7 separate regions of the Homo sapiens genome follow, and regions 2, 3, 4, 5, 6 and 7 are each linked to region 1. The links are contacts of gene promoters, found by promoter capture Hi-C in human tissues and cell types (Jung and others, 2019). All regions are on one chromosome and are shown on one strand. Each heading gives the region's core, a stretch centred on a gene start or on the middle of the fragment in contact. The rest is flanking DNA. Distances are from core to core; before and after follow the strand shown. Region 1 holds the start of SRSF6 (serine and arginine rich splicing factor 6). Region 2 has its middle 47 kb from the start of CHD6. Region 3 has its middle 97 kb from the start of CHD6. Region 4 has its middle 180 kb from the start of CHD6. Region 5 holds the start of LOC101927182 (a long non-coding RNA gene). Region 6 overlaps ADA (adenosine deaminase). Region 7 overlaps PKIG (cAMP-dependent protein kinase inhibitor gamma).

Evidence for each region. Contacts are between HindIII fragments. The study calls those that stand out against the background at their distance.
Region 2: a fragment that was not itself captured here is called in contact with the fragment with the promoter of SRSF6 in region 1 in 1 of the 25 tissues and cell types used here (dorsolateral prefrontal cortex).
Region 3: a contact is called between a fragment that was not itself captured here and the fragment with the promoter of SRSF6 in region 1, in 1 of the 25 tissues and cell types used here (dorsolateral prefrontal cortex).
Region 4: a contact is called between a fragment that was not itself captured here and the fragment with the promoter of SRSF6 in region 1, in 1 of the 25 tissues and cell types used here (dorsolateral prefrontal cortex).
Region 5: a fragment that was not itself captured here is called in contact with the fragment with the promoter of SRSF6 in region 1 in 1 of the 25 tissues and cell types used here (dorsolateral prefrontal cortex).
Region 6: a fragment that was not itself captured here is called in contact with the fragment with the promoter of SRSF6 in region 1 in 1 of the 25 tissues and cell types used here (lymphoblastoid cells).
Region 7: a fragment that was not itself captured here is called in contact with the fragment with the promoter of SRSF6 in region 1 in 1 of the 25 tissues and cell types used here (aorta).

Annotation. Positions count from the first base shown.
Region 1 is chr20:43,456,573-43,459,196 of GRCh38, forward strand. It overlaps SRSF6 (serine and arginine rich splicing factor 6), which reads left to right and starts at 1,324. Exons shown (of 6, transcript NM_006275.6): 1 at 1,324-1,568; 2 at 1,789-1,937. The coding sequence starts at 1,462. RefSeq lists enhancers at 661-980, 1,041-1,200, 1,122-2,069, 1,501-1,600 and silencers at 1,741-1,840, 1,851-2,110. The HindIII fragment of the contact is 8,319 bases long and covers 1-2,624 here.
Region 2 is chr20:41,663,903-41,666,526 of GRCh38, forward strand. No RefSeq gene overlaps it. Among named protein-coding and RNA genes, the nearest start is that of CHD6, 47 kb to the left of the region's middle. The HindIII fragment of the contact is 4,219 bases long and covers 1-2,624 here.
Region 3 is chr20:41,714,358-41,716,981 of GRCh38, forward strand. No RefSeq gene overlaps it. Among named protein-coding and RNA genes, the nearest start is that of CHD6, 97 kb to the left of the region's middle. The HindIII fragment of the contact is 3,700 bases long and covers 1-2,624 here.
Region 4 is chr20:41,792,238-41,794,861 of GRCh38, forward strand. No RefSeq gene overlaps it. Among named protein-coding and RNA genes, the nearest start is that of CHD6, 180 kb to the left of the region's middle. The HindIII fragment of the contact is 4,306 bases long and covers 1-2,624 here.
Region 5 is chr20:41,902,075-41,904,698 of GRCh38, forward strand. LOC101927182 (a long non-coding RNA gene) reads left to right here and starts at 1,774. Exons shown (of 6, transcript XR_001754611.2): 1 at 1,774-2,025. The HindIII fragment of the contact is 3,027 bases long and covers 1-2,624 here.
Region 6 is chr20:44,638,600-44,641,223 of GRCh38, forward strand. All of the region lies in intron 1 of ADA (adenosine deaminase), which reads right to left. Among named protein-coding and RNA genes, the nearest start is that of ADA, 12 kb to the right of the region's middle. RefSeq lists an enhancer at 1-2,624. The HindIII fragment of the contact is 5,650 bases long and covers 1-2,624 here.
Region 7 is chr20:44,608,212-44,610,835 of GRCh38, forward strand. The region is part of intron 2 of PKIG (cAMP-dependent protein kinase inhibitor gamma); the gene reads left to right. Among named protein-coding and RNA genes, the nearest start is that of PKIG, 27 kb to the left of the region's middle. RefSeq lists enhancers at 842-1,416, 2,174-2,243, 2,294-2,393, 2,424-2,483. The HindIII fragment of the contact is 7,160 bases long and covers 1-2,624 here.

The DNA.
Region 1 (2,624 bases), core at 74-2,573:
ATCATAGCTCACTGCAGCCTCGAACACCTGGGCTCAAGAGATCCTCTTGCCTCAGCTTCCCAAGGTGTGGGGATTACAGACTCGTATTTTTTATTTATCTAACTTTAAGCACGGCCTCTACCTCCCCCAGTCGTGACAAACAACGTTTCCCTCTAGACTTCCAAATAGCTCCAGGAGGACAAAACCCCCCTTTTTCAACCCGAAGCTTAAGGATATTGAGGTTGCACCACTCAAAACAGAGCAGGAATACATAAATATCTAAAGAGCTGGTGTTATCTCAGTGATATCCCTTTTTTTTTTTTTTTTTTTTTTTAGCTTCGGCGGTGACACCTACTCTCCTGGTCTTCTCCCTACCTCGCTAGTCACTCCTCCCAGTCTCCTTTCCTGCGCTTAAATTTCAGAGTACCCCAGGCGTTGGCCTGGGTCTTCCGCTCTCCACTTAAACTTACTCCTTTGAGGTTTTCAATCTGGTTCTACAGCTTTAAATAGCATCTCCATTGATAAACTCACAAAATAAGGCACTTTCAAGTCAGTGGAGGAAATGATAGTATTGGGACAAAGGACTTTCCATACACGGGAGAAAAAAAATCGTTCGTCGCTGTGGGAGGGCTGCCGGGTCTCGTCCACGCTCCCTTTTGAGCACCTACAGTGAGCGTAGGATTGCCACGGATAGCCCAATCCACAAGTGAGTCAAGCTGCCAGGGCTCCAAGAAAGACCCATGGAGGGAGAGGGGAACGTCCGGGGAGGCGAAGGCTGCGAGTGAGACCCGGAGAGGCTGATGTCGGCGGGTCTGCGCGCTCGCAACGCGACCTCCGCCCGGTCAGCAAGACCTCGGCGCGCGATCCTCAGATTCTGCGAAACAAGACAAGCGACTGGGTCCGAGACCGCGGTCCCCATCAAAACGAGCATCAACCAATCGCTGGGAGAAATCCGCAGCCTCGTTTTAAGCCACCAAGCAGAGACCGCGGCGACCTATTATGATAACCTCGAGAACCAATGAAAAACGGGGATTCGCTCAGCCCGCCTCCCGAGCTTCAACCCCGAAGAGATCGCGCACAGTTTTATAAAAGGTACAAATTAGAAAGCAGTTCTGCGGCTGGATTAGAGACATTGTGTTTTCAAAGACGGTGGGGAGGGCTAGAGAAAAATCCTAGAAGCTAGCAAGACCGCACTACACCGAAACGTCGCGGGCAACGGACTCGCCAGTCACCATCTAGCCCAGGGACGACGCGGGACGGACGTGCCGCTGCGCGCTGACATCACGCTCCAGGCCCCGCCCCACCGGCCGCCCATATAGCGAAAGCCTGGCGCGCGCGCGCGCCATTGTGTGGCTGGACTCGGCCGCCCCTGTGGTGTGAGGCGCGTGTTCGGGCTCTTGCCGTCCCCGCACCCGCACCGCGGTTACTGGCTTGCGGTCCGCCGTTCGACAACCAGCCCTTGGGTCCCCGCCCGCCACGGACATGCCGCGCGTCTACATAGGACGCCTGAGCTACAACGTCCGGGAGAAGGACATCCAGCGCTTTTTCAGTGGCTATGGCCGCCTCCTCGAAGTAGACCTCAAAAATGGGTGAGTCGGGCCTGGGCGCCCGCGCCCAGCGTCCCAGGCCTGGTGGCGGCGGGAACTCTCCAAGGAAAGAAGCGGCCAAGGCCGCGGCGCCGCGTGGCAGGGCCTCAAAGATGGCGACGGCGCGGCGTCGCGGGGGCGCGCGGTGGGGTACGGGCGCGCGCACGTGCGCGTCCTGGCTAACGACTCCCCCGCGGTTGTCCGGCCCTCGCACCGCCCCTAGGTACGGCTTCGTGGAGTTCGAGGACTCCCGCGACGCCGACGACGCCGTTTACGAGCTGAACGGCAAGGAGCTCTGCGGCGAGCGCGTGATCGTAGAGCACGCCCGGGGCCCGCGTCGCGATCGCGACGGCTACAGCTACGGAAGCCGCAGTGAGTCCCACCCCCGCGCGCTCCGCGCCCTTGGGGACCCTGGGGGCGGGGGTGGGTGGGGTGGGGCCTCCCAGCCCGGGCAGGCGCGAGGGCCGGGGGTCGTTTGACTTGGGTGTCCCCGAGCCCCGCTGCCTTCACGTCTGCCCGGGGCAGCCATGGGACGCCGGAGCGCGGGGATTGGGTTTGGGTGTTTGGTTTTGTTTATTTGCCAAGTTGGGAGGTGGGTGGCTTCTTCTGGCCCCTTGTCAGCACTGTCACGGGTTCTTCCCACAGAGGAAGTAAGGGGTGGCTGTATTTGTTGTATTCTCCTTACTTACCTATCAGTGCATTAGTTAGAGGTTCGGGGGCAGGCTCGGGTGGAGGTGGGGTAGGGGGCGCGGGGGACGGGGAAGGGGAGGAGCATAAAGTATAGGTCTTAAAGCTATGGAACTTGATGGGGGCCAAAGAATGTACTATTTTTAAGTAATGTGGTATTGTACCACAAAGTAGATCTAAATAAGCTTTATGCTGTATTTGAACTAATTGGGGCATGTTATTGGGAGGAGGTTGGGGGGATTTTTGGTTATGTTAAATGTTTGATGTTTAAATTGTTGCATGTTGAATTCAAACTTTTTAACAAGTCCTTGATGTTTCAATTTGAAAGTGACCAATGGGGCTGAGGCTGTGTCCACTGAGGCTAAGATGACT
Region 2 (2,624 bases), core at 39-2,538, 1.8 Mb before region 1:
GGCATACATTTTGATACTTTTTTTGAAGCCATCAAAAAACATGAATTACGCTGGGTGTGGTGGCTCACACCTGTAATCCCAGCAATTTGGGAGGCCGAGGCGGGTGGATCACCTGAGGTCCGGAGTTCGAGACCATCCTGGCCAACATGGTGAAACTCCATCTCTACTAAAAATACAAAAATTAGCCGGGCGTGGTGGCAGGTGCCTGTAATCCCAGCTACTTGGGAGGCTGAGGGAGGAGAACTGCTTGAACCCAGGAGGTGGAGGTTGCAGTGAGCCGAGATCTTGCCATTGCACTCTAGCCTAGGCGACAGAGTGAGACTCCATCTCAAAACAAACAAAAAATGAAAACCATGAATTAGAGCTATACCAATGAACATGGATAATATTTCACAATGTATTGACTGAGAAAAAACAAGATGAAGAAAGGTTTTTTTTTTCTCCCAGAAAACAATGACAGAAAACTGTATAAAACTTATGTGTGTGTACGTTTGTTTGTATAGGTCTGAAAATAATTATATAAGCATGGGGGGAAATACGAAGGGTTATTTTAATAGTATTAGATTCACCTATGAGCAAAGAAAGCCCAAAATAACAATGGCTCAAATAAGATACGTAGTTCATTTCTCTCTCATGTTAAGCTCCGTGTTAATCTGGAGCTGATGTGGTTTCTCTCTTTCATGAAAATCTCTGGAACCCAGGCTCCTTCCAGCTTTCTGCTCTGCCATTACTAGAATGTGAACATCTTGAAAGTCCAGCCTGCACAGTTTCATCCTCAGACTTCACGTTCCATGTAGCAGGTTAGAGAAAGAGGAAGGAGAAAGGGTATATGTAAATTGTCTCTTAAAGATTTCTGGATGCGCAACAAAATGCTCCCATTGGTCAGAACTTAGTCACATGAACACATCTAGCTGCAAAGGAGAATGGGAAATGTAGTCTTTATTCTGTGTGGCTATGATCCCACCCAAAAATTTCGTGACGCTTTGCACGCATGCATTCTTGTAGACAACTTAAGAATCAGTCTTTCAAGTTCCAAAAATAATCCCCTGGGTAGTTTGACTGCAACTGTATTAAATCCATAAAGTGATTCAGGGAAAGCTAACATATTTATACCATGTAATGTGGTATACCTCTCCAACTTTTTATCTTGTTTGGAATATTTTAGAATTTTCTTCATGTAAGTTTTCTGTATTTCTGGTCATAGTTACACACAGTTATTTACAGTTATTGTTGCAATTATGAATGGAAGTTCTTTTTAGTACAATTTACTAAGTGGCTATTTTTGGAATATAAGAAAGTCATAGATTTATATTTCTTGTATTGAACCAATTTATTGACCTTTCTTATTAATTTCAGTAATATTTTCTGTTGGGTTTCATGGATTTTCTAAGAAGAAAAGACTGTAGCCTGAAAATACAAATAATTTGCTGTTTCTTTTAATATGTATTTCCTTTGTTTTTTTCTTACCTAATGGCACTGTTCTGAGACTCCAGAAACATTTTGATTAATGGCAATAATAGTGAGCATCCCATTTAATAGAAACGCCTCCAGTATTTGTTTAATGTTTTACCATTAAGTTTGCTGCTTGTGGCTTCTGATTTTAAAAAGTGTCCCTGGGCCCTCTGTTCTTTGCTTAGTAAGGTGTTTATCATTATTTTTGTCATCACTGTCATTATTATCATCATCTGAAATGGAGGTTATACTCTAATTAATGCATTTGGGCATATATTGAGATGATCATATGGTTTTTTTCCTTTCACTATCTGATGTATTACAGGATGCTTAGTTCAACAAAGATTTCTTAATGTTGAACCAATCATTCTTCCTGAAATAAACACTACTTGGTCATGGTACATAACTCTTTTAATATACTGCTTGGTATGACTTACTAATATTTTATTTAAGACTTTCATACCAGCAAGTGCTTGGTTAGATTTTTGCATTATAAAATGAAATTGGATCTTTTTTGATGCTAGTTTAAATATCTAGTTTAAACAACATACAAATGGTATTTTTAATAAGATTTCCTAGAACCTACTCATAAAACCATCTGGGGCAGAATTACCTAGGGGCATAGATTATTTACATTTTCAGTTTTATCAATGGATTTTAGTATAGGTTCCTTTTGTTTTGTTTTAGTTTTTAGAGGTATGTACTTGCTCTGTTACTCAGGCTGGGGTACAGGGGCACTATGATAGCTCACTGTAGCCTCAAACTCCTGGGCTCAAGGGATCTTCCTGGCCCAGCCTCCCAAGCACCTAGGACTGCAGGTGCTTGCCATTATGCCCGGCTGATTTTTTAAAACATGTTTTGTAGAGACAGGGTCTCTTTGTGTTACCCAGGCTGGTCTTGAACTCCTGGCTTCAAGAGATCCTGCCACCTCGGCCTCCCAAATTGCTGGGATTACAGGCATGAGCTACTGCATCTAGCCTATATAGGTTTCTTAGAATCAATTTTAGGAGCTTATATTTTTATGGGATACCATTCATTTTAGGTAAATGTTCAGGTATATTAACATCAATTTTAACATAAAATTTTCAAATAGCTTAATTATTCTTAATATGTGGAGATAAAGACCCTACTCCTGAGCCCTGGCATTGTGTTACTTGTGATTTATTTCTTAA
Region 3 (2,624 bases), core at 85-2,584, 1.7 Mb before region 1:
TCAAATCCAAGTCTTCAGATTCTAAGTACTGAGGTCCTTTCTCAACATTTTCTCTTAAAATGTTTGGCTCTTTAGGGCAGAGCCCAGACTCACCAATGCCACACATGCCTCCCATTTGCCTGCTAGACTTTAGAGCTTTGGAATGGATCTGCAATCTCATAGAAAAGAGGTAAAGCAAATTCCTTCCAGGTCATAGCAAGAGGGTGGGGTGTCCTTTAACTGTCCTGATGCCTAAATTTGGTTTTACACAAAATCCCCAAGATGCTGTAAAATCACTTTTGTAGCTGGATGCCAGGGTCAGAATTGATGACTTGAGAGGCAGAGGAGCAGAGCTTCTGCTATGACCTCAGGAAAATGAGATGTGGCTGCTGAAGCCCAGAGCTTGGCTCCCAGCAAACCTCAGCCCTGGTTGCCAATGCCATCTCCCACTGCTGATGGATGATGGCCCACTGGCTCCTGCACCTGTGGATAGCTCTGATTTCTGCTTTCAACCTGTAGCCACGTAGCCTTTGGATTAAAATATTGTCCTCTGATTCAGATGATTCTTTTCTTCTCTGCAACAGGGCCACCGTAGGACATATATAGTAGTTAGCAGTGCAGGTTTTGCTGTTCACTAGCTCTCTGGTCTTTAGCAAATGACATCTTTTTTTTTTTTTGAGATGGAGTCTCGCTCTGTCTCCCAGGCTGGAGTGCAGTGGCACCATCTCGGCTCACTGCAAGCTCTACCTCCTGGGTTCAAGCCATTCTCCTGCCTCAGCCTTCTGAGTAGCTGGGACTACAGGCACCCGCCACCACGCCTGGCTAATTTTTTTTTTTTTTGTATTTTTAGTAGAGACGGGGTTTCACCGTGTTAGCCAGGATGGTCTCAATCTCCTGACCTTGTGATCCGTCTGCCTCGGCCTCCCAAAGTGCTGGGATTACAGGCGTGAGCCACCGCTCCCAGCCACAAATGACATCTTTGATCCTTGGTTTCCCCTTCTTTATTAATAGACTCTGTAAAGAAGGTTTCCTGTGCGCTGGTTACCCACTGGTCTGAGTTTGGTGAGACAGAACACCCATGCTCACAACAAGTTAAGTAAACAAGCTTATTACTTACAGATAGGCAGGCAGCAAGGGACAACAGAAACCGAGGATTCATTGCCACCCAGTCCTCCAAGGTTCAGGAAAGCTGCCTGGGTGGATGGAGTCTCAACTGCATGTGCTCCACTTTCATAGCAGCTGAGGGACCTCAGAAAGCAGCCCACACTGAGTTTTATACCTCGGGGTTACAAGACCCTCTGGGCTAAGCCTGGAAGGACATCTCATTTCTAGGGAGGGATTGGAACAGAGCCTGGACTGTCCTGACCAGCTCCCCTCTTATCTCAGGATGTTTTATTTCCAGCATGTCCTGCAGTTATTCTTGAGAACTACAGATAAGAAATGGGGGGAGAACTGTCTTGGTCTAAGGCCACCCAGAGAACTGTGCTGCAGATCCCACATCTAGAGTTCTCTTGAGGGTCAAATGAGATATCATAATGGGAAATGCTTAGCTTAGTACCTGATATGTAGCATTTTAAAAAAGGTAGTTATTAAGTTAGAAAAGGGACTATCTGCAGGATCCCTGCATGGGAAGAATGCATGGGGACACTGCATGCAGATGCTTAGGAATGCTTTGTGACAAACAACATCATGGGAGGTGGCAGCTCAAGAAAGTTGATCATACTTGTGCTTTTGAAACCTTGTGAGCAGTGTTAAAGCAGAAATATGAAAGGGAAAACCTTTACATGACAGCTTTCTATGTTTTATTGACATCCTGGCTAAGCTGGCTCCCTGACCTGGGTCTGGTTGATTCAGAGCTGGTGAACAATCATTATCTTGCACAAGGATGCACTAGGAAGGACCACACTCTAGCCCAGCTGGTCATGCAGTCATGTTGGGAAGTGCTGGTTGGCCCAGGGAAGCCATTCCTGATGGATCAGAGGAAAAGGGAAGGGAGAAGTAAATATGAAAAGAAGCTCAAGCCCAGGCTATGACCAGGAGAGCCAATCCTTCATTTGGAGCGCCACTCTTTCTTTGCCCAGAAACCTGCAGGTACATGCAAGTCCCTGGGAGTGGCTCCAGGAAGCCCCCCTCGGGCTCTATGTTGCTTTTTTTGAGTTAGACTCTCTGGCATAGACTTTGTCTTTGAAAGAGGATTTGTAAGTCGCTGTTTATTTATTCTTTTACTCATTCATTCCACATTCATAGAGCACTGGATTAGTCAGGTTCTCCAGAGAAATAGAACCAACAGAAATAGAACCAAAGACATGCATTATAAGAAATTGTCTTACATGATTATGGAGGCTGACGTGTCCCAAGATCTGCAGGGTGAGTTGGCAAGCTGGAGGCTCAGGAGGGCCAATGGTGTAGTTGTGGTCTGAAGGCTAGCAAGCTTGAGACCAAAAAAAAGCTGATGTTTAAGCTCTAGCATAAAGGCAGGAAAAACTCAAAGTCCAGTTTGAAGACTGCTGAGTAGGAATAATTCCCTCTTATTTGGGAGAGGATCAGCCTTTTTTTCTATTCAGGCCTTCAACTGATAGGACAAGGCCCACTCACACTGGGGAGAGCCAACCTAATTTACTCAGCTCATTGGTTTAAATGTTAAT
Region 4 (2,624 bases), core at 75-2,574, 1.7 Mb before region 1:
CATGGGCAATATGTAAATTGATGGGCATGGCCGTGTTCTAATAAAACTATATTTGTGGACACTGAAATTTGAATTTTACATACTTTTCACGTGTCACAAAATATTCTTTTGATTTTTTTTCAACAATTTCAGTGTAAAACCCATTCTTAGCTTGTGGGTCATATAAAAACTGGTGGCAGGCCAGATTTGGCCTATAGGCTATAGTCAGCTGATCCTTGTACTAGACCATAAACCTTACAAGGATAGAATCTTTTCTGCTCACTATCATATACCCAGGACCTGTCGCAGTGCCTCATACACAGTGGCCACTCAAAAAAAATCTGTTGAATGAATGAATGAATGAATGAATACAGTCTGTCTATTCTCCTTTGTTTCCTCTTCTCTGAATTTGTCCAAAGAAAATATGAGGTAAGGAAGCTGAGAAAGAGTAATCAGAAGGTATCCAATGCCTTCTCTTGTCTACATCTTAGGTAGGAATTCACAAAGCTTCTGATTTTAGTGAAAAGAAAGATTAAATAAAAGTCTCTGTAAGGGCTTTAGTTGTCAATCTGCCCTGAAGTTCAGAAATACTAAACTCAGAGCTCAAATATGCCAAGAATGTTTTTTTTTTTAAGCCTAAGAATAAATCTAGAATTATAAAGTTGTTTCCTACTTAACCCCAGAGGGTACACTGAGATTAAGTATAATTGTTTATAGTTGTGAGTTAGTAAGGATGTGTTCATAATGCAAAGAACTGCGTGGTTTTAAATGTTCTAAGTTGTGCATTACTTTAAAAATATATGGTAACGAGATATGAATAATTGGTGTTTGGTGAGGTTGAAGTTTCTGTAAAATGTATTTCAGGCTGTGCATTGGAGCTGTAAAAGTGCAACACTGACACCTTCCATGAAAAACCAGGCGGGTGCTGGAGGCCATAACTGAGACAGTGTTGAGCATGGAGGAACAGGTCATGTCAATGAGCTTTAACCAATAAAGCATCTTGGAAACATCTGAGAAATCAAAAATATGACTTGCAAAGGGTGATTATATACATGGGGAGGATAACTAGGAAAGAGCCTCAAAGGCTAGACCTTCCTTCTGGGATAGGGGAGGAGGATATATGCCCTTTGGGAAGAGAACAGAGCTAGCTAGGCACTTCAGATCAGAGCTGTGGGTGCTAACAACTAATTTGTGCTGGTTGAAACTTACCATTGTCCAAGACCTTCCCTTTCTGGGTCATTCTTAACAATTACTATTATACTTTAATAATTCAATATAGAGTATTTATATATATGTGTGTATATATATATATATATATATATATATATATATATATATAACTTTTTAAATAGAGCTTAACTGGATGGAGACATTCACTGTGTTGCTGAAATCCCTTTTATTCAGACCATGATTCCGTTATTGTTTATTTTTTCTGCTTTTCCAGCACTCATTACCTCCTTCATTGTAATGGGGGCGGGCCTCATCCCTCTGCCTCTTTCCATTTAACTGAGGCGGCTCTCACCCTCTGGACCAGGCAAGGGCACATGATCTTGGGCTAGCCAATCAAAACATTTCATTCTTCTAGCCATAGTGATTGGTTCAGGAATGAGCATATGACCTAAGCTAGACCAATGAGAACCATTCCCAGGTCTTTCCTGAGCCCACTGATTAAGTAGTTAAGCTTCTAGGCTGCTAACTGGAAGCTTCTGTTGGTGACTTCCTTGAGGGAGGATTTTTTTTTTTTTTTTTTTTTTTTGAGACAGAGTCTTGCACTGTCACCCAGGCTAGAGTGCAGTGGCATGATCTTGGCTCACTGCAACCTCCGCCTCCTGGGTTCAAGTGATTCTCCTGCCTCAGCCTCCCGAGTAGCTGGGATTATAGACATGTACCACCATGCCCCGCTAATTTTTGTATTTTTAGTAGAGACGGGGTTTCACCATGTTGGCCAGGCTGGTCTTGAACTCCTGACCTCGTGATCCACCTGCCTTGGCCTCCCAAAGTGCTGGGATTACAGGCCTGAGCCACCGCGCCTGGCCTGAGGGAAGGACCTCTTGAGAAGGGAGGTATCACAAAGATGGCCACTGCCAATTTACCTTCCCTTGTGGATCTTTTGCTTTCTAATCTTCGCTGTGGTGGGGAATAATCTCTACTCAAAGTGTTTGGTGGATTACATGAAAAATACACAGCAGGTATTTGGAAGCATTTCCATCTTCCTTTCTTCCTTCTTTCCTCTTTTTCTCCTATCTCTCTTTTCTTCCCTCCCTCCTTCCTTCTCCCCAACCTTACCTTCCTTTCAAGGAACTTTCCCCAAAGGGAGATTATTTAGGTACAGGCTTGGCAACTTTTTCCCAGTGACTTCTCTTCCATGGGACTGGGGCAGCCACGGGGCAGTTTCTTGAAGGCTTCAGTGAAGGTGAGATTTGTAGGGCTTTTGTGATCACCTGGAGGATGCAGGGCTGAGATTGGTAGAGGGTGGAGGTTAAAGGAGCAGATCCTTTTTGGCCATGAAAAAGAACTTTCTAACCAAAGCATTTTTCAATAAAGGCAAGAGCATCTTAGGTGGTGTTTCCAACCTGGGGCATCCAGCCAAGGATTAATGGCCATCTCTCAGTGTATTAGGATTCTCCAGAGAAACAGAATCAATA
Region 5 (2,624 bases), core at 57-2,556, 1.6 Mb before region 1:
ACTTAAGCATATAAGTGTACATGCATTCATGAGTCTTTTGATGTGGGGGGTCCAGGTATTTTCCTTGAGTACCCAGGTTTCCTTTCTGCTGAAGTTTACATATCAACGATGATCCCTAACTTAACTTGCTTTGAAGTGGGCAAGAATTCAACCTGTGAAGAAATCTGAGGGCAGGAATCCTTCTAGAATTTTGTTTTCCCCAAACTCCGAATTCTGTAGAATTTTTTAAAAAGTTATTTGCCTGTGCACAGTATTCAAACACAGTTTTCATAGATGCATAGATTCTTATATATAATATTTAATTAAATCTGTGATTATAGTAACAAGTATAAATAGCGTTAGCACGCTTGGAACCAATGCAAGATTAAACAACTCAGCTTTTAGAAGCTGCAGCGAATGGGTGTGTCAGAGAGTAGCTTATTAGCCCTGAACATTCTAGTGCCATGGGTTTGGTCAACGTGTCTTAGAGAATTGGCAATGGTGGTTGAATACCAAACAGCTGAGCTCTTAACACATGTTATTATCACTCTATGAGGTTCAGAAAGGTTAAGGACTCTTCTCAAAGCCACATAGCTAGAAAGAGCTGGAGCTGGGAGGTAGACCCAGCCAGCCTGCATCCAGAGTCTCTACTGAACTCCCCTGATTGTCTGTTTAGGTAAAAAATGATAATCAGTCTTTTTATCTTGACAAAGTATAAACACTTCTCCTTTTTATATAACTATAAATACTTCTCCAAATACACGCTTCTTCCTGCCCTCACTGTCCTTCTATCCTTAATTTAGAAAGAAAACTTGGTGTTCTTGACAGATGAGCAATTGAAATGGATGCATTAATTGATTTAAATGTCCAAGCATCAATATTCTCTGACAAAACATTGTCAGTGCACAGAAGACCAGTTAATGAAGAAAATAACCATGGAAGGGGGAATCAATTAGACTGAAAGTTTAGTTGAACCCTTTGATAAAGCATCTGTAGGTAGCTAGGTAGCATGCATTTCTCCTTCCCTCTGTTATGTCCCCATCCTCTCCCATACACACCTCTTATTGTGTAAAGCATTATACATCCAGTGAAATACTACACCTTATGGTCCTAGTTCTGTTATTATTCCTGTGCACCATCTCCTTTGATGTGACTCATTGCTGGTTACTTGCCTTCCATGCCCTATATGTAAAATGGGGGTAAGAATAGTACTTGCCTATCAGAGCTGTAGAGAGATGTAAATGGGAAATGCTTAGGACAATATCAGATACATTGTAAATGCCCAGAAAATGGTAGCTATTATTGTTTTTCCAACCCTTTTTCCCTAGGGAAAAGATAAAAAAGACTTAATCAGACATAGCTAAGGGAAAGCATTCTGTTTTAGCTCTTTTGGCCTTCTTTTGTAATCCTAGTCCAGTGCCCACAAGGCTCAATAAATATTTGTAGAAAGTTGAATAGATGAATCGTAGGTCAGTGTTTTTCCCCAATCTGCTTCTGCATCTCATGATGGTCTATGTTATACGGGTTGTTTCTCTGTATCAAAGCCTTTTATACTTCTGTAGTTTCAAAGAATTCTCAGTCTCTCCATCTGCAATTGCTTACGGTCTTCATATTGTCAAGTACGGACTTTTTCTGAACTATGTTTTCAAGGGAATCTTGTTTTCCTCTCATATTCTCAGAAAAATGCCAACAGACAATTGCCTGCAGAATGACAAATGGCTCACATGGCTTGTTGCTCCGCTTTGTTGCTTGGATCTGAGTGCCCTGTGATCTGAGGTTTATGTCTCTTGGCTGCCTCCATGTCTCACTGTGGTTTTATATCCCCTGGCTTTTTGGCAGAAACAAAACTTTTAGATTTGTCCTCAACTGAAAATGTTTCAGCTGTGTGTGCAGGCGTCTTCATGCTATAGAAGAAGGAATGGAACTGTGAATGGTGGGAAAGGCTGAAGGAAGTAATGGAGACCACGATGCAGAAGTAGGTGCTCTTGCAAAGCAGTCCCGGGACAGATAAAGGAAGCAAAGGCAGAGAACCCCAACGCCTTGTAAGTAAGTTCTTTTGTCTTGGCGGAGTTCTAACCTGGAGTTGTCTGGGATAGGACTGGGATGCTAGAAGCCAGGTTAGGTGAATATCCCCGTGGGCAAGTGAGGATCACCTGCAGCTCTTTTTGTCTTAGGTGGTTGTGTCAAGTGCCTTTCAAGTGCCTCTTCACCACCCAGAGCTATTCTTTGCTGTCTCTCTGCTGTGCTCTGCTCTCTTCCCAGGAGGCTGACTCTGATCGATTGCATGAGCAGGTTCCTGTGCCCTTTAGCTTCAGCTAGGTGGGTCCAGTCAACAGGGACCCTTGGCAGGAGATCAGAGGTTTGGAGGGAGGAGGGTATGCTCAGGGTATCTATTCCTCTGAAGGAATTGCCTCAGGCTGGCTGTGCCTTTCAGTGGCAGGTAAATGTTCCCCTCAAGGTGGCTCCTTTTATGAAATTCTCTCCTTCCAGTTCTGGTATCTGTTCTCTCTCCTCGTCATTTTGAGCCTAGAAAAGATAACGACCACATTGTTACTAATCCCGGGGTACTGCACTGTCCCTGAAAGCTTCCCTATAACCTGCCCCCACCTTTGCAAATGGTTCTTTTATTAAGTCCTGTTCATGTG
Region 6 (2,624 bases), core at 70-2,569, 1.2 Mb after region 1:
ATAAAAGTCAACGAAGGCCTGCGCTCCTGCTGGATGCTAGATTGTAGAGTTAAACAGGAGGGTCCAAGTCCTGTTCCTGGGGCTTGTACAGGCCCCAGAGTGGGAGAGGCATTAAGCAAATGTCACATGGGAAAATGTACAGTCACAAACCAAGACGACTCCTTGGGAAGTACGAACACAGTCCTATGACAGAGGGTAACAAACAAGAGAAGTGAATACATCTAGAGGGCCAACAATGAGCCTGAGCGAAAAGCTAGAGGATAGCGAGGAACCCACAACACAAGGCAGGGGTGCGGAGGGAGGCAGGAAGAAAATTCCAGGCAGAAGGAACAGCATGTGCAAGGCCCTATGGCAGGAGAAAACGGGGTATATGAAATGGATTAAATAGAGGTTCAGAGAAGGGAGGGTTCATGGTACTGGAGAGGCTGCAGGATAGGACCACCCAGGCAGGGCTGTGCGGGCCACGAGGAGTCAGGCTTTATCTGGAAAGCACACAGAGGCCATTGCAGGGTTGGCAGCTGGTTAGAGAAAGAGGATGGCTCCTCCAAGGCCAGTTAGAGGCTACTGCAGCCATTTGAAAGATGACGGTGGCTTGGACCAGGGTTGTGAGGTGCATAGAGGAAAAACAGGTGGATAGAAAGAGATGCCAAGGCTCACACTTCAGGTTAGGCCTGGGTGGGGAGCAATTCCCGCAGTTTGAGACAGAGAACTCTGGAAGAGAAGACCAAGTCCTGGAGCTCCCTCCAGGAGGGAGGATGCGGGGGAGGGAGGCATGATTGGTTTGGTTTTAGTTATGTTACACTAGAGACACCTTTTGTTTTTTGTTTTTTTAAGACGGAGTTTCACTCTGTTGCCCAGGCTGGAGTGCAGTGGCTCCAGCTCAGCTCACGGAAACCTCCACCTCCCGGGTTCAAGCGATTCTCCTGCCTCAGCCTCCCGAGTAGTTGGGACTACAGGCACCCACCACCATGCCCAGCTAATTTTTGTATTTTTAGTAGAGATGGGGTTTCACCATATTGGCCAGGCTGGTCTTGAACTCCTGACCTCAAGTGATCTGCCCACCTCGGCCTCCCAAAGTGCTGGGGTTACAGGTGTGAACCATCGTGCCCAGCCAACTGGAGATGCCTTTGAGATATCCAAAGGTAAGTGGAAGAACCCAGTGGGATACAAGAGTCTAGAGCTGGCCTGAGAAGCCCAAGCTGGGAATGTAGGTAGGAGTGTGGGTAAGCACAGAAGCTGTGGGCTTGAAGGAGCTCACCTAGGGAGAAAATATCAAGGGAGGTAAGGAAAAGGCCTAGGATGAAACTTTGACCAGCACAAGCACTTAATGGCCTTACGGAGGAGGCTGAGCCTACAGAACTGTGGCCAGAGAGGTGGGAGGGTGTGTGGTATGCAGAAGGCCAGGCCGTCAGATGTCAAGGAGAAGCGAGCAACGGTTCACAGGGTTAGCATAGTGGGCTGAATGGTGGCCCCCACAAAGCTGTCTACATGCTAATCCTAATCCCCAGAACCTGTAAATATTACCTTATATGGGTCGGGCGTGGTGGTTCATGCCTGTAATCCCAACACTTTGGGAGGCTGAGGTGGGTGGATCACTTGAGGTTAGGAGTTCAACACCAGCCTGGCCAACATGGTGAAATCCCCTCTCTATTAAAAATACAAAAATCAGCCAGGCATGGTGGCATGCACCTGTAGTCCCAGCTACTCAGGAGACTGAGGTAGGAGAATCATTTGAACCTGGGAGGCGGAGGTTGCAGTGAGCCGAGATTGAGCCACTAGCACTCCAGCCTGGGCAACAGAGCAATACTCCCTCTCAAAAAAAAAATATTAACTTATGGCGGGTGGATCACCTGAGGTCAGGAGTTCGAGACCAGCCTGGCCAACATGGTGAAACCCCATGTCTACTAAAAATACAAAAGTTAGCTGGGCATGGTGGCAGGTACCTATAATCCCAGCTACTCAGGAGGCTGAGGCAGGAGAATTGCTTGAACCTGGGGGCAGAGATTCCAGTGAGCCGAGATTAAATCACTTTACTCCAGCCTGGGTGAAAGTGCAAAACTCCACCTCAAAAAAAAAAAAAAAATTACCTTATATGGCAAAGTGTGATTATTAAATGTCTTGACAGGAAGAGTTTATCCTGGATTATCTGGTTGGGCCCTAGATGCAATCACATGTATCCTTATAAGACAGAAGCAGAGAGTTTTAAGAGAAACACACACAAGAGGAAGCAGCAACGTGACCTCAGAGGCAGAGACTGGAATGATGCAGCCACAAGCCAAGGAATGCCTAGAGCCACCAGCAACCAGAAGAGGCAAGGAATGGATTCCCCCGAGAGCCTTCAGTGGGCATGTGGCTCTGATGATATCTTGATGTTGGACTTCTGGCCCCCAGAACTGCCAGGGCACACGTTTCTGTTGGTTGAAGCCATGCAGGGTGTGGCAACTTGTCACGGCAGCCACAGAAAACTCACATGGTCAGGCCCTGCTGGAGGTCACAGGATGGAAGGGCAGAAACTTGTCCGTCGGGCTAAAAGCGCAGGCACTGGGGGCTTCAGAGGAGTAGTTCTTAACCCCGGCTGCAAGTTAGGAGCACGGGAAGTTCTGGCCAGTTCCCAAGGCCTCAAC
Region 7 (2,624 bases), core at 59-2,558, 1.2 Mb after region 1:
AGATGAAGTGAATGTGTTCACTATAAAAAGGAAATATAACAGATTTTAAAATTACTTATAAAAATATTAATGTATGTAATTATATCACTGGTATTCTTTTTCATTTAACTATATGTGAACATTTTGCCATTTCTTTAAAAAATATTCACAAACATCATTTTAATGCCTGAATGGTATTTCATTTAGATACAAATTAGTTAAGTATGTATATATTAATAATTCTCCATTGTCCGTTTAGGACATGTGACACATCCATTTAGGAACTCATTTTGGTGTCTTTAGTTTCCTGCTATTATAAATAATACTGTGGGCCAGGCGCAGTGGCTTAGGCCTGTAATCCCAACACTTTGGAAGTCCGAGGCAGGAGGATCACTTGAGCCCAGGAGTTTGAGACCACGAGTTTGAGACCACCTTGGTTAACATAATGAGATTCCCATCCCTGAAAAAAAATGAGCCAGACATGGAATAGTCCCAGCTACTCAGGAGGCTGAGGCAACAGGATTGCTTGAGCCCAGGAAGTTGAGGCTACAGTGAGCCATGATTGTACCACTGCACTCCAGCCTGTGTGACACAGCGAGACCCTGTCTCAAAAAAAAAAAAAAAAATACTATGAGGAACATCTTTGTACATTTTATCTTCATGTAGATCTTGGATTATTTTCTTAGAATAGATTATTATAAACTGATTTAGTAGCTAAAAGATATGGAAAAAGTTGAGGTTTCTGGATACACACTGTCAAGTCACTGCCCAAGGAGGTCTTGGAAGTTTACAGTCTCATTAACAGGGTTTGAGAATGACCATTTTCTGACAGGATTTCCAACTCTGAGGATTCTTTATTTCCCCATTTGCTGTTGACTCTAAAGATGAGAGGGTGAGTGACGAATATAAATATGGGAGAAAAATAAAACGATGTGTTTCTGCTTTCGATTGGAGAGCTCCCCAGAGCCGTCTTTGGAATTGCTGTTCCCTGAGGGGATATGGTAGCCAGAGCATGTTGGCCCAGCTGATGTTTTCTAGGATTGGTCTTTGAGTGTGGCATTTGCTGTCTCTGTGTCCCGAGGGCCAGTGGCCTGCACTGGGCAGCCTGTAACATCAGATGGCATTGTGAGATCAAAGCCCCAGGAGACATTCCAGCATGAAGCTGGCCTTTCAGATAGAGCCTGTAATTCCATCCCATGGTGTCAGGTCCTAGGACAAGAACACCTGCACAGCACTCCACGGTGCACGGAGGCCCTTCTCAACAGCCCCAAGAAGGAACTGCGGCTCCTCCCCACAGAGGACAGGCGGGCAGCAGGGGAGAAGAGGGATAGACACAAACTCCCTCTCCTTCAGAGGCCCGAGAGTGAAATCCAGCGAGTGTGCATGGAGCGCCTGCTCTTTACCAGGTGCTGGATGAGAATCAGGGAATGCAGCGGCCAGAACCTGTTGGCTCAGCTGCCAGGATTAGGTTTCAGCTGGACATGGGAAAAATCCAGACCAAATTCCTGTTCCCGTGGAGCTGACAGTCTAACTGAGGAAGAGCCGAGGACTCGGAGGCTCCGGGAGCCAGTGTGGCCTGCTCGGGGTTTGTCATTTTCCAGAGCAGCGGGTTTCAGGTGGGGCTGAGGCCCTTCTGAGCCGTGGCTGTAAACCGGCCTCACTCACCTCAGAGGGCAGCTGTGGCCACTGAGTGCGTGATGTGTATGAAAACACAGGCACCTGGGCCATGGTACCTTTCCTTATCGTAGGAATTGTCAGCATCATTTTTATCCTCTGTTATTACTGTTATTATCATAAGCCATTTTCCTGTCCTGAAGCATTGAGCGGTTTCCCCAGAGGCAGAGCGCAGGAGTGAACCTCCGTGACCTGTAGAAGGAGCCACCTCTGGAACTTCCGGGAATTCTTTTAGCCAAGGAGGAGCCAGAGCGTGACTAGGGCAGCGCGCAAGGCTGCTAGGAAGATAGGCAGGGTGCGCCATCTGCTGTAGCCGGGGGGAATTGCCGTGGACAGTGTCCTGGCCCTCCTCTATTTTACACAGGGGAAATGAAGGCCCCAAGAAAGGCAGGGTCTTGCCCAGGGTTAGGTGGCAGAGCTTGGGTTTAAGGTCACGTGTCTCATTCTTTGCTCTTTCTACCATAGGACACCTCCCTGTCTCACCTGTCTGATCTTTGAGGGCCCCTAATTCATTCTTTAGGTGTTTCTTCTGAGCTAGGTGTTGTGGGGGGATGTGGGCCTTGCCCTCCATACTGATCCTCTTCTCTGTCTCTCTCTTTCTCTCTCTCTCTCTCTCTCTCTTCTCTCTCTCTCTCTCACACACACACACACACACACACACACACCTGCAGCACTTACTGGCTCAACCCCACCCTGGGTGCCTTCTGGGCACTTCTGCCAATGTCAGCTACCTTCTAAAAGCATTGCACAATAATTTGGGTTTATAAAACTTCAACCATTGAAAAAATATAGACTTAGAAAACGAAAGTTCCCCTTAATCACAAAGAACCACAGTTGACAGGGTTGATAGATGTTTTTTCAGATTTTTTTTTCATATGTCTGCTATCTTTCCCCACAGGAACTGGGTTTTATTTTAGGTGTTGTTTTGCAACCTCTGTTTTTCAGTTGCCAGTTTATCTCAGACATTGTCC